Regions from separate parts of the Homo sapiens genome. Here region 1 is linked to region 2. Evidence: promoter capture Hi-C in 16 types of primary human blood cells and fetal thymus (Javierre and others, 2016). All regions are on one chromosome and are shown on one strand. Each heading gives the region's core, a stretch centred on a gene start or on the middle of the fragment in contact. The rest is flanking DNA. Distances are from core to core; before and after follow the strand shown.

Region 1 (5,970 bases), core at 241-2,740, 130 kb after region 2:
GCCCCACAGATACATTTTTAAATCCCTGTAACTGCAAAAATAAATAAATCTTTAACACAACACAGCAGCTGTCACCATGCCTATCTTCCCACTTTAAACAACTGGGACACTGGGCAGTAAATGGGGCACGGCTTTCACAGAGCGAACGATGAACACACGAGCGGTGCGGGGCTGAGGCCCCTCAGAGAAGGTCCTCGCGAGATGGGCCCACTCGCCGCCCGGCTTCTCTCCACAGGCCATTCCGGATCCCCGCAGGGACGGCAAACCACGCAGAGCACGGTGGTCTTGCTGTGACGAGGAGATGAAGGTTGGAGTTTGGAGAAGCTGAAGTGGCTGAAATGGGCTTTATGAGGCAGAGGGGCAGAGAGGAGGGGAACCTGGGATCTGTGCAGGGATCCCCTAGAAGCTGTGGCTGACAGCCACATGCAAATACACAGGAGAAGCCAACACCGGCTGGGCCAAGAGCAACTCGTGGGAACGAAGCAGCCAGCACGGGGCTCCACGTGCGCTGATTCCCAGAGCTCGTCAGGGCGGCCGGCGGAGCATCCTTGGAGCTCTCGCTCCAGGGCACGCAGTGGGGTCTGGGAGTCATAGTGCTGAGTCAGCCCTGGTGAAAAGGCTTCTCTAGACCTGCCCCACCTGCCCTCGCACTGATTTTAAACAAGTCTCAAATGGGTCAAGCTGCCATGTAAATACTTAACTGCAGCCAAACAAAAAACAGCACAGCCAAAACCAGATGCTCGCCAACATCATATTCACCATGTCTGACATCCAGTGAAAACTTACCAGATGGGCAAGGAAGTAGAAAAAAATGTAGCTCTCTCCAGTAGAAAAATCAGCCCATAGAAACAGACTCAGAAATAAAGATATGATGGAATTAGCAGATAAATACATTTAAGCAGCTATTACAAATAAGTTCAGAGATTTAAAGGCAACCGTGCACATAATGAGGAGAGAAATTAAATGTATAAAAAAGTCTAAATATTGTAATATGTGCTGTTTTCTTTCAGTGAATGGAAGAGTTTAACGAAGAAGGAACATTGGAATCAAGAGTTGAGAACATAAGCCAGGCGGGGTGGCTCACGCCTGTCATCCCAGCACTTTGGGAGGCCAAGGCAGGTGGATCACCTGAAGTCAGGAGTTCAAGACCAGCCTGGCCAACATGGTGAAACCCTGTCTCTACTAAAAATACAAAAATTAGCCAGGCGTGGTGGCGCATGCCTGTAATCCCAGCTACTCTAGAGGCTGACACAGGAGAACTGCTTGTACCCAGGAGGTGGAGGTTGTAGTGAGCTGAGATTGCGCCACTGCACTCCAGCCTGGGTGACAGAGTGAGACTCCATCTCAAAAAAAAAAGAAAAAAAGTTGAGAACATTATCACAGCATGTTTTTTTTCTTCTGCATTAGTTCATATTATGAGGGTTTTCTACATACACAAGTAATAGGTAAATCTAAATGTGCTTTCTTGAAGATACATGATGTTTTATTTCAGTCAATGGAAGTATTTAACAAAAAAAAAAAAGAATGCTGGAAGGAAGAGCTAAGAACGTTATTACAACATGTTTCTTTCAGCATTGGTACTTTTCCTTTTTTTTTTTTTGAGACCCAGTCTCGCTCTGTTGCCCAGGCTGAAGTGCAGTAGCACCATCTCGGCTCACTGCAGCCTCCGCCTCCTGGGTTCAAGTGATTCTCCTGCCTCAGCCCCCCGAGTAGCTGGGATTACAGGCGTGTGACACCACACCGGGATAATTTTTGTATTTTTAGTAGAGATGGGGTTTTACCATGTTGTCCAGGCTGGTCTCAAACTCCTGACCTCAGGTGATCTGCCAGCCTTGGCCTCCCAAAGTGCTGGGATTATAGATGTGAGCCACCGCGCCCGGCCCACCAAACATTTATTTATATTTTATTTTTTATTTGTTTATTCATTTTTTTGAGACAGAATCTCACTCTGCTGCCCAGGCTGGAATGCAGTGGCACGATCTGGGCTCACCAAAACCTCCGCCTCCTGGGTTCAAGTGATTCTCCCACCTCAGCCTCTGGAGTATCTGGGACTACAGGCGTGAGCCACCATGCCTGGCTAATTTTTGTATTTTTAGTAGAGACGGGGTTTTACCATGTTGGCCAGGCTGGTCTCGAACTCCTGACCTCAAGTGATCTGACAGCCTTGGCCTCCCAAAGTGCTGGGATGACAGGCGTGAGCCATCACACCCGGCCCACCAAACACTTTTAAACCATCAGAACTCACTTACTATCATAAGCACAGCATCGGGGAAACCGCCCCCATGAGCCAATCACCTCCCATCAGGGTCCTCCCTTGACACATGGGGATTACAATTTGAGATTAGATTTGGGGGGGGACATAGAGCCAAATGATATCATACAGCATACACATTCATCAAAATTCATCAAGTGTAGAGTTAAAATGGATGAGTTTAGCATATGTATTCTGTAATAAAGTTGACTTGAATGTGTATGGGAAATAGAATGCTATCTTTGTTCAAGGAAGTGTTCGCCCCAACGGATAAGAAACACATGAGGACATGAACAATCAGACAAGACAGACGAGGAGATTCTTTGTTTTTGTTTTCCTTTTTGCAGAGATGGGGTCTCACTATGTTAACCAGGCTGGTCTCCAACTCCTGGGTTCCAGCAATCCTCCTGCTTCTGCCTCCCTAAGTGCTGGGATTATAGGTGTGAGCCACCACGCTTGGCAAGAGGAGATTCTTAGTGCAGAATCAAGCAGGAGCACCTTTATGGCTCTTATTACAGACTGAGAAACACCATCCTCTGGCCATGCTCCCTCCAGCAGGCGGCCCCTTCTGCATGTCTTCCCACACCACCCCTGCGTGACCAGACATTCTATCTGTCTTGTTCACTGTCTTTCTCCCCCAAGAAAATGTGAGGCCAGGGACTCAATCTGTTCAGTTTTGAATCCTTAGTACCTACAACAGCACCTGCCCATAGGAGACCCTCAATGGAAACATCTGCCTGGGGACAGTTACCTTTCAATGTCCTGCTGGGATCGGGCCACCTGTGCCTTGAGCTTCACCTCTTCTTCCTGCAGCGTCTGAATCTGAAGGTCTCTGGAGACCATCTCCTTAGATAGTTGAGCAATTTGAGCATCCCAGGCAGATTTTACAGTTGATGCATCTTCACGAAGTCTAAACATAGAAGGGAAACTATGTAGATGTGGTTCTCACTCACTAAAGTTGTCTCTTACACAGCACCCCCCAGCAAATACACATGCGCGCGCGCGCGCGCACACACACACACACACACACACACACACACACACACACACACACACACACAGCTCTCGAGCTGAAACTTCCTGGCCTAGATGATGAAGATGGTTCCGCACAGGAAGAATTAAGCATCCGTCCACCCAACTACCTCCATGCATGCATGCATCCCACCAACCCAGATTCCAGCTAAGCTCCTGCAGCACACCAGGCCATGTGCCAGGTTCTTGGTGGGCGGAAGGTGAGGCATGACATGCCTCCCATGCCCACAGAGCCCACAGTCATGAGGTAGCAACACCTCTGACCAAGTCACCCTCATGTCCTCGCCATGCCTAGCACAGCACCCCACGTGCAGAGACATTCAGCACATTTTCAAGTTGCATGGTAAAATAAGGTTCTACAGAACCCACTAAATAACCTTAACAGCAGGATGCCTCTGGGAGAATTACCCAAAATGGAATAAATTTCCCAAGAAAATGTTCGGGACAATATCTAGAGCTGTTAACTCAGGTAGCCACAGTACTAACCTAGGCAAGATGATACCTGCCCACTTGCATGGGCGTAGCCCTGTTTCCCTAAGAGATGGGAAGACGGCCCACAAGAGCAACTGTAGCATCACACACGACAGACCTTCAGATGCTCCTGTGCTGATGAACTTCCAACTGACAGTGAGAAGCAGAGGGTGAGCTGGCTGCCCCCACAGAGGCCACCCCTTGTCACGAGGGGTTAAACCTAGCATGAGTGGTGCACTCAAGCCTGGTATTATATAGAATGGAAAAAAAGCCACCCTGCCAACAGTTTTGGACACATATTTTAGGACAGCTGAAAAGAGACACCATCAAAGGCATCAACGTTTCCAGCCATCTCTGGCAATGTGGGCTGACACAGAATGTGTGTTTGGACTCCTTCCACGCTTTGCGTGGGTACTGAAGAAACAGACTCACCAACGGCCTCTGGTGCTCTGGGAAGCAGCTTTATCCCTGGACCATGAGCCACCTAATTATGAGGGCCAGCCCCACTCCCAGCATCAGGATGGTGATGTGACTCTGCCTGGGGCCTCCTGGACAGTCTCCCCTGATGCACAGTCTCAGGTGTAGATCAATGGGCACGGCTGCTGAGCCCTCACTGCAGGGACAGAGGACACCACGGCCACGAGCGGGAGTGCACTGCTCACCACAAGAGCGTAAATGCTTTTTGTGAGAAGCCAAGGTGGAAGGATCACCTGAGCCCAGGAGGTCGAGGCTCCAGTGAGCCATGATCGCACTGCTGCTTTCCAGTCTTCTCTTTCTTCTGCGTAATGGGATGGTTAAAATAAAAAAGAAGGCTGGGCATGGTGGCTCATGCCTGTAATGCCAGCACTTTGGGAGGCCGAGGCAGGCAGACTGCTTGAGGTCCCAGAGCTCGAAACCAGCCTGGGCAACATGACTAAACCCTGTCTCTACTCAAAATACAAAAATTAGCCGGGTGTGGTGGCACGCACCTGTAGTCCCAGCTACCTGGGAGGCTGAGGGGGGTGGATCACCTGAGCCCAGGAGGTGTAGGCTGCAGTGAACCGAGATCACGCCACTGCACTCCAGCCTGGGTGACAGAGTGAGACCTTGTCACAAAAAAAAAAAGGAAGAAAAAAATGCTTTCCTGTTAATCCTACAGGTTTTCTCTGTAGTTCCAAACTCCAAACCAGCACAAAACTGCTGAAAAACCTATTAAGAACTACAAAGCTGGCCAGGCACGGTGGCTCATGCCTATAATCCCAGCACTTTGGGAGGCTGAGATGGGAGGATCACTTAAGTCCAGGAGTTTGAGACCATCCTGGGCAACATGGGGAGACCCCATCTCTACTTCATTTTAAGAAAGAAAAAAAGGAACTGAAATAAATATGGCTGTCACTTATTTCTATTTTTTTAGTTAAAAAATTATTTTTTTAGAGACAGAGTCTTGCTCTGCCTCCTGAGTAGCTAGGACTATAGGTGAGCACCACCGTACCTGTCTAACTTTTCTTTGGGTAGACATAGGGTCTTGTTTCGTTGCCCAGGCTCAAGTGATCCTCCTGCCTCAGCCTCCCAAAGTGCTGGGATTAGAGGTGTGAGCCACTGTGCCTAGCCGAGGTCATCATTTAATGCCAGCTCATACTTGGGATCATGGGATCCGAATGATAGCTGAACTCCCCAGAAGTAAAAGAGGAAAGATACAAGCTTTAGAATGTAGAAGTCTGTTTCTTACTACCAAAATAATACTGCATATGTGTAGTAATAATTCTCAATGAGCAAAGAGTATTTACGGACAGAAAACGAAAAGACATTCAAGAACAACATTTAGCTTAAGACTGCAACGGGGGGCCAAGGTTAGGCGCACAGGAGTGGTGACGCCCAGTCACCTCGGCCGCACTACATGGAAAATGGAAGCACCTGCGGCCCCTCTCACCCCGTATACCGACCACAGAGGTCGCCCCGCACACCGACCGCAGAGGCTTTAGGTGCCTCCCATGCATGGCGTCTTCAACCACTCTGCTTGAATCTGACTGATCAAACAACAACACAGCATGCTGAATCTAGAGAAACTATCCTGAATAAGCCCTTAACTTCCTGGTACTGTGTAGTTCTAAGAGCCATTTCCCCCTTAAACAGAAATACAATTTGTCAGAGAATTCTCTATCGGTGGTGGCTCATGCCTATAATCCCAGCACTTTGGGAGGTCAGTGTGGGAGGATCACTTGGGTCCAGGAGTTGGA
Region 2 (4,712 bases), core at 941-3,440:
GGAGTCAGGGCGGGGCAAAGCCCAGGTGGCAGAGGCACCCAGAGTGGCGCCTGTACCTGCTGGAGCAGGGTGTCGGGCGGCAGCCTCTGCAGGTTCTCCAGGTGAGAGTGGAAGAGGGGGCTGTGCAGCAGGCGGGCGCCCAGGAGCCCCTCCACGATGTAGCCAACTGTGCAGTCATCCGGCAGCCGCACCTGCTCAGCTGTGCTCATGAAGCTGCCCAGGCTGGGGGGAGGCCGGTCAGCACCTTTCAGGTCTCAGCCTCCGCCTCCCAGCCCGGGCAGCTGGACCCCCACTCACCTGGCCCATGGGCTCATCTTGAGGGCAAGGCCTCTGCTGAGGCAGAACCCGGCCCCACCAGTAGCAAACCAGAACTTGACCGTGGTCACCTGAAGATGGGGTGGTGGTCAGAGCTGCCCAGGACAGGGCTTCTCACCCCTGACTCTTCATGGGACTCCCCAGGCATCTTTCTTAAGCTGCCCCTTAGGAGATCCCACCCAGGTAACAGAAGCTTCTTGGAGCAAAAAGAGCCGGGGGCTTCTGCAGGCCATTGACCCGTAGCCTCCAGACCCTCCCCACCTGGCCCAGACACCCCCTCTCTGCCCAGTACGGTGAGGGCCTCCTGGCCTGCTCCTGAAACACCACATGCAAACCACCTGGGTGGATCAGCTTGGGCCCCCAACCCTATGCCCTTCTCAAGCCAGCTTTCCACGCCCTCTGCTGTGCCTCCCGGGCTGGTGTCAAGGAAGGCGTCTGCTCCGATGGCGTCTGCTCCGACACTCACAGTTCTGCCACCCTGGACCCTCTCGGTGGCCTCAATGGGGTGGTCCAGGCTGGGCCGCCCCAGGTAGACGTCCTGGCTGGGTGAGAAGCTGGAGAGCAGGTGCAGGAGGCTCCTGGCGTTCACATAATTGTCATCATCCACGTGGCAAAACCACCTGTGGGCGAGGGGAGTCCTGGGCACGAGGGCCTGGCATGGCTGGACAGGAGGCCCCCACCCAGCTTGGCTCTGAGCTCTCTGCGGGTCGGGTCAGCGCCGCGTACTTGCGCCCGGACTCAATGAACTTGTCATACTCCACGGACATCTTGCAGCAGAGGGCCTGACGAGTGCGCACCGCCGAGCAGTTGGTGTTGATGACACGGTCGCCTGCGAATCAGAGACGGGAAGCACGCACGTAGAGGATGGCACTGGGGTTGGGGTAAGGCCTGTGCCCCACCTGCCCCCAAGGGCCAGGGCACAACGTGGCTGTCTGACATGCCTGGACACCTTGCCTGGGTCCAACCACAGCCCTAGCCCTCACGCGCTGACCCTGCTGGTGCCACCGAGGCTGAAGCAGGCGGCCATCGGTTGGGATCTCTTGAGTGGAAACAGGACGGAGGCAGCTCGCCCTGACCTGGCCTGGAAGGGCGGATTCCCTGCTGGCGCTTCTTCAGGGGACGTGGCACTAGCCCCACGCCCCGGGAAGCGGCTAGTGTGAGAGGCTGGTGGGGAGCAGAGCTTGGCTGGCAGGGTGGGCCCTCCGCAGGCCGCGTGACCTGGGCAGCGTCGGGGCCTCCCCGGGCCTCGGGAGCCTGGGCAGAGAAAGGCACCCACAGCAGCGAAGGGGCCGTGGCTTCGGAGCGAGAAAGGCTCGGGGGGCAGATCCCGCGGGCGCCGGGGAGTGGGGGACACTCACCGCCCTGGAGCTCGAGCTCAGGGTCGTCCCCGTCGGTGAAGATAAACGTCTGGGGGAGAAACAATCTATGAGGCTTCTGGGGCGCTGCCCAGGCCGGAGACCGACCCGCCCCGCGCGGAGCCTCCGGGGGCCTGGGCCGGGCCTAGACCCTGGGAGGCGGGGCGGGTGGGCGTGGGGCTCGCCGTCGGGGTCGGGGTCCGGCGCACCTGCTGGCGGGCCCGGGAGATCCAGGTGCGCAGCAGCAGCCGCAGGCGCGGCCCGTGGTTCTTCCGGGTGGTCTTGACGGCGATGAAGACGTCGTCAGGCCGCAGGCTGGGGGCAGCGGGCCGGGACGGGGGCGCGCGCGGGGCCGGGGCGGGGGTCCGGGCCGGGGCGGGCGCGCGGGGCAGCGGCAGCGGCAGTAACAGCAGCGCGGCCAGGGCCGCGGCCAGCGCGAGGCAGGCCCGGCACAGCGCCCCACGCGCGCGGCTCATGCGGCCGCCGGGACCCCCGGCGCTGCGAGCGGAGAACCTGGCCGGAGCCGTGGGTGGGCGGCGGCCCCTTTAAGAACGCAGCGGCCCCGCCCCGCCCCGCGCCCCGGAAGCGACGGCTTCGCTGCCCCGGAAGTGGACGGCACGCCGCGGCGGGGTGGGTGCAAGATGCCGCTGCCGGTTCAGGTGTTTAACTTGCAGGTAACGAGCCGAGGCCGCCCCGGGCCTCCGCGCCCCCGCGCCCCCCGCCACTGGGGCCGGGCTGAGGTCGAGCAGGGGCGCGGGGCCTGCGCCAGGAGTCGGTCGGGCACGCTCCGTGCCGGGCCTCCGCGGGCAGCGCGCGTCGGGGGCTGCAGGGCCGAGGGCGCGTCTCCGCCGTGGCTGCGCGCTGCGATCGGGGGCCGCCGGGCCGCGCCCGCCCCGCCTCCCCTCCCAGCAGCTCACGGGAGAGGTTCCCGGCCGCCCCGACGCTAACGCTCTTTCTCCCTTCAGCAGCCAGCCAGCTCTGTGTCAGGGTCGGGGGGTGCAGAAAGTCAGGACAGAATGAGGGATAGCTCGGCCCCCAGCTCGGCCTCCTCGTCAGTGACAGATCTGTACTGCACCCCTCACAGCAGTAGGTCAGACCTCGTCCTGCCCGGCACGGCCGGGGACTTCAGCCTGAGCGCCAGCCTGTCGGCCTGTACGCTGCTCTACGAGGTACCTTCCAGGACAGGGACCCCCGAGCGAGGGAGGGGGGAGCAGGGCCCCGGCCGCCCCTGCTGTGGCTGGGCCCCTGCTGCTCTGCTGGCCGAGGACAGGGACTCAGTGCCAAGCGCAGGAGGGGAGGGAGCCCCGGTGGGCCCGGGGCCTGCGGAGGGAGCCGAGCTCTTGGTGCTTTTCCCGAAGGAGCGCGGGAGGCCCACGGGTCCGGCGAGTGCCCGGCATGGCGGCTTTTCCAGCCTGCTTTGTGTTAAGCCGAGGTCCTGGCTTCTCTGTGTCTCCCAGCTGGGGGCCATGAGGCTCCCTGAGATGACTCTTTTCCCCTTCTCCCAACTCCGTGGCGTGACTCTCAGCCCAGTATTGCTGCTCCGCTGCTCAGGACAGATTCCGGGGGCTGGTCCTCCTGCCTCCTGGGGTTGAGGTGGCGTCCCGTTCTTCTCCGTGGCTTGGAGGAAACTACATCAGGATGGTGGCTGGGAACGTGTAGGGGCCCTCAGAGGCCCCTGTGTAGTTGGTTGTCCCCTGTCTGCTTTCTGGCTTTCAGAGATGAGCGGCTAGAATCAGGCGAGGGGTTTCTGCTTCTGAGCCTTAGAGTCTTGTGAGGAGACCCCTCCCTGATGTGGTGGCACAGGAGCCTGGGTGGGGGCGGGGGTGACTGGGAGGGCACACCTGGGGGACAGCAGCGGCGGGAGTGTGGTCCGACTGGCCTGGAAGATCTTGGGCAGAGCTGACCTCAGAGAACAGTGCGGGTCTCTCGCCCTCCTGGGGCAGTCCCCAGGACGAGGTGCCAGGTGCCTGGCCCATGTTGCAGGGGGCCGTGGAGCCCATGCAGATCGACGTGGACCCCCAGGAAGACCCGCAGAATGCACCTGACGTCAACTACGTGGTGGAGAACCCCAGCCTGGTACGGAGCCCAGTGGGGGGACCTTGGGTGTCTCAGTCCTGCTGAGGGGTCCAGGGCACACTCCCCGCTGCAGCCTGCACAGCAGGTAGAATGATCCTCCTCAGTGATCGCTGTCGTCTTTTTCTGACCCCGAAACCATCAGCGTTTCTGATTGCGCACTCACATGAGGCTTGTAGCTCAGCTTCAGATGCTGCTCATGGAGAAGCCAGGGCAGGTCTCCTCCCCGCTCAGCCTAGCGACCAGCAGTCACTAGTGGGTGTCTATCCCCGAAAGCCCCCGGGTGCAGGGTCCCACTCCTGAGGCTCCTGCGCCAGGCCCACCCCAGCGGTCTTCGTAGCTCCTGGGACAGCAGTCAGTCTCGTACCCCCATGCCCGGTTCTGGTTATGGGCCCAGGGCGACATTCTGGCTAGGACAGTCAGGCCCCAACTCCTGACCCTCAGGGCCTGGGGCCAGGGTCCTGCCTCCCATCCTGCCTGACTCTTGTCTGTGCCTGCTCCCAGGATCTGGAACAGTACGCGGCCAGCTACAGCGGCCTGATGCGCATCGAACGGCTGCAGTTCATTGCTGATCACTGCCCCACGCTGCGGGTGGAGGCCCTGAAGATGGCCCTCTCCTTCGTGCAGAGAACCTTTAACGTGGACATGTACGAGGAGATCCACCGCAAGCTCTCAGAGGCCACCAGGTGAGGCCAGGGGCTTGGCGAGAGGAAGCAGAGGCCACCAAGGGAGCGCGGGTGTCTGGGACTGGGCCCCCTTCCTGTGCCCTGCATCTCCCACCCCTGTGCTGGGAAGTCGGGCGGGTAGAGCTCTCGCTCTCTTTTGGCCAGCAGTGGAAGTGCCCTGTGTGTGTGTGGCTTCTGTGTGTGTGCATGCAGGGCTTTGATTCCAAGGGGAGCTGTTGGAGACTGTGGCTCAGGGGCCGCCTCCCTGCTGGTTTCCCCACCCGGCTGTAGGCTCCTGGGGCAG

What was found. The method cuts DNA at HindIII sites, captures the fragments that hold promoters and counts their contacts. A CHiCAGO score of 5 or more calls a contact.
Region 1: a contact is called between a fragment that was not itself captured here and the fragment with the promoter of RFNG in region 2, in 1 of 17 cell types (total CD8 T cells). The highest score is 5.0, in total CD8 T cells.

The regions. Positions count from the first base shown.
Region 1 is chr17:82,180,772-82,186,741 of GRCh38, forward strand. CCDC57 (coiled-coil domain containing 57) reads right to left here. Exons shown (of 19, transcript NM_001394669.1): 8 at 3,003-3,161. Among named protein-coding and RNA genes, the nearest start is that of CCDC57, 29 kb to the right of the region's middle. RefSeq lists an enhancer at 1-844. The HindIII fragment of the contact is 7,884 bases long and covers 1-5,432 here.
Region 2 is chr17:82,049,621-82,054,332 of GRCh38, forward strand. RFNG (RFNG O-fucosylpeptide 3-beta-N-acetylglucosaminyltransferase) reads right to left here and starts at 2,191. Exons shown (of 8, transcript NM_002917.2): 1 at 1,880-2,191; 2 at 1,674-1,722; 3 at 1,042-1,144; 4 at 782-935; 5 at 298-386; 6 at 57-222. The coding sequence starts at 2,146. GPS1 (G protein pathway suppressor 1) reads left to right here and starts at 2,278. Exons shown (of 13, transcript NM_001321092.3): 1 at 2,278-2,344; 2 at 3,654-3,746; 3 at 4,248-4,429. The coding sequence starts at 2,312. RefSeq lists silencers at 1,726-1,875, 2,146-2,395, 2,456-2,585 and an enhancer at 1,836-2,505. The HindIII fragment of the contact is 9,575 bases long and covers 507-4,712 here.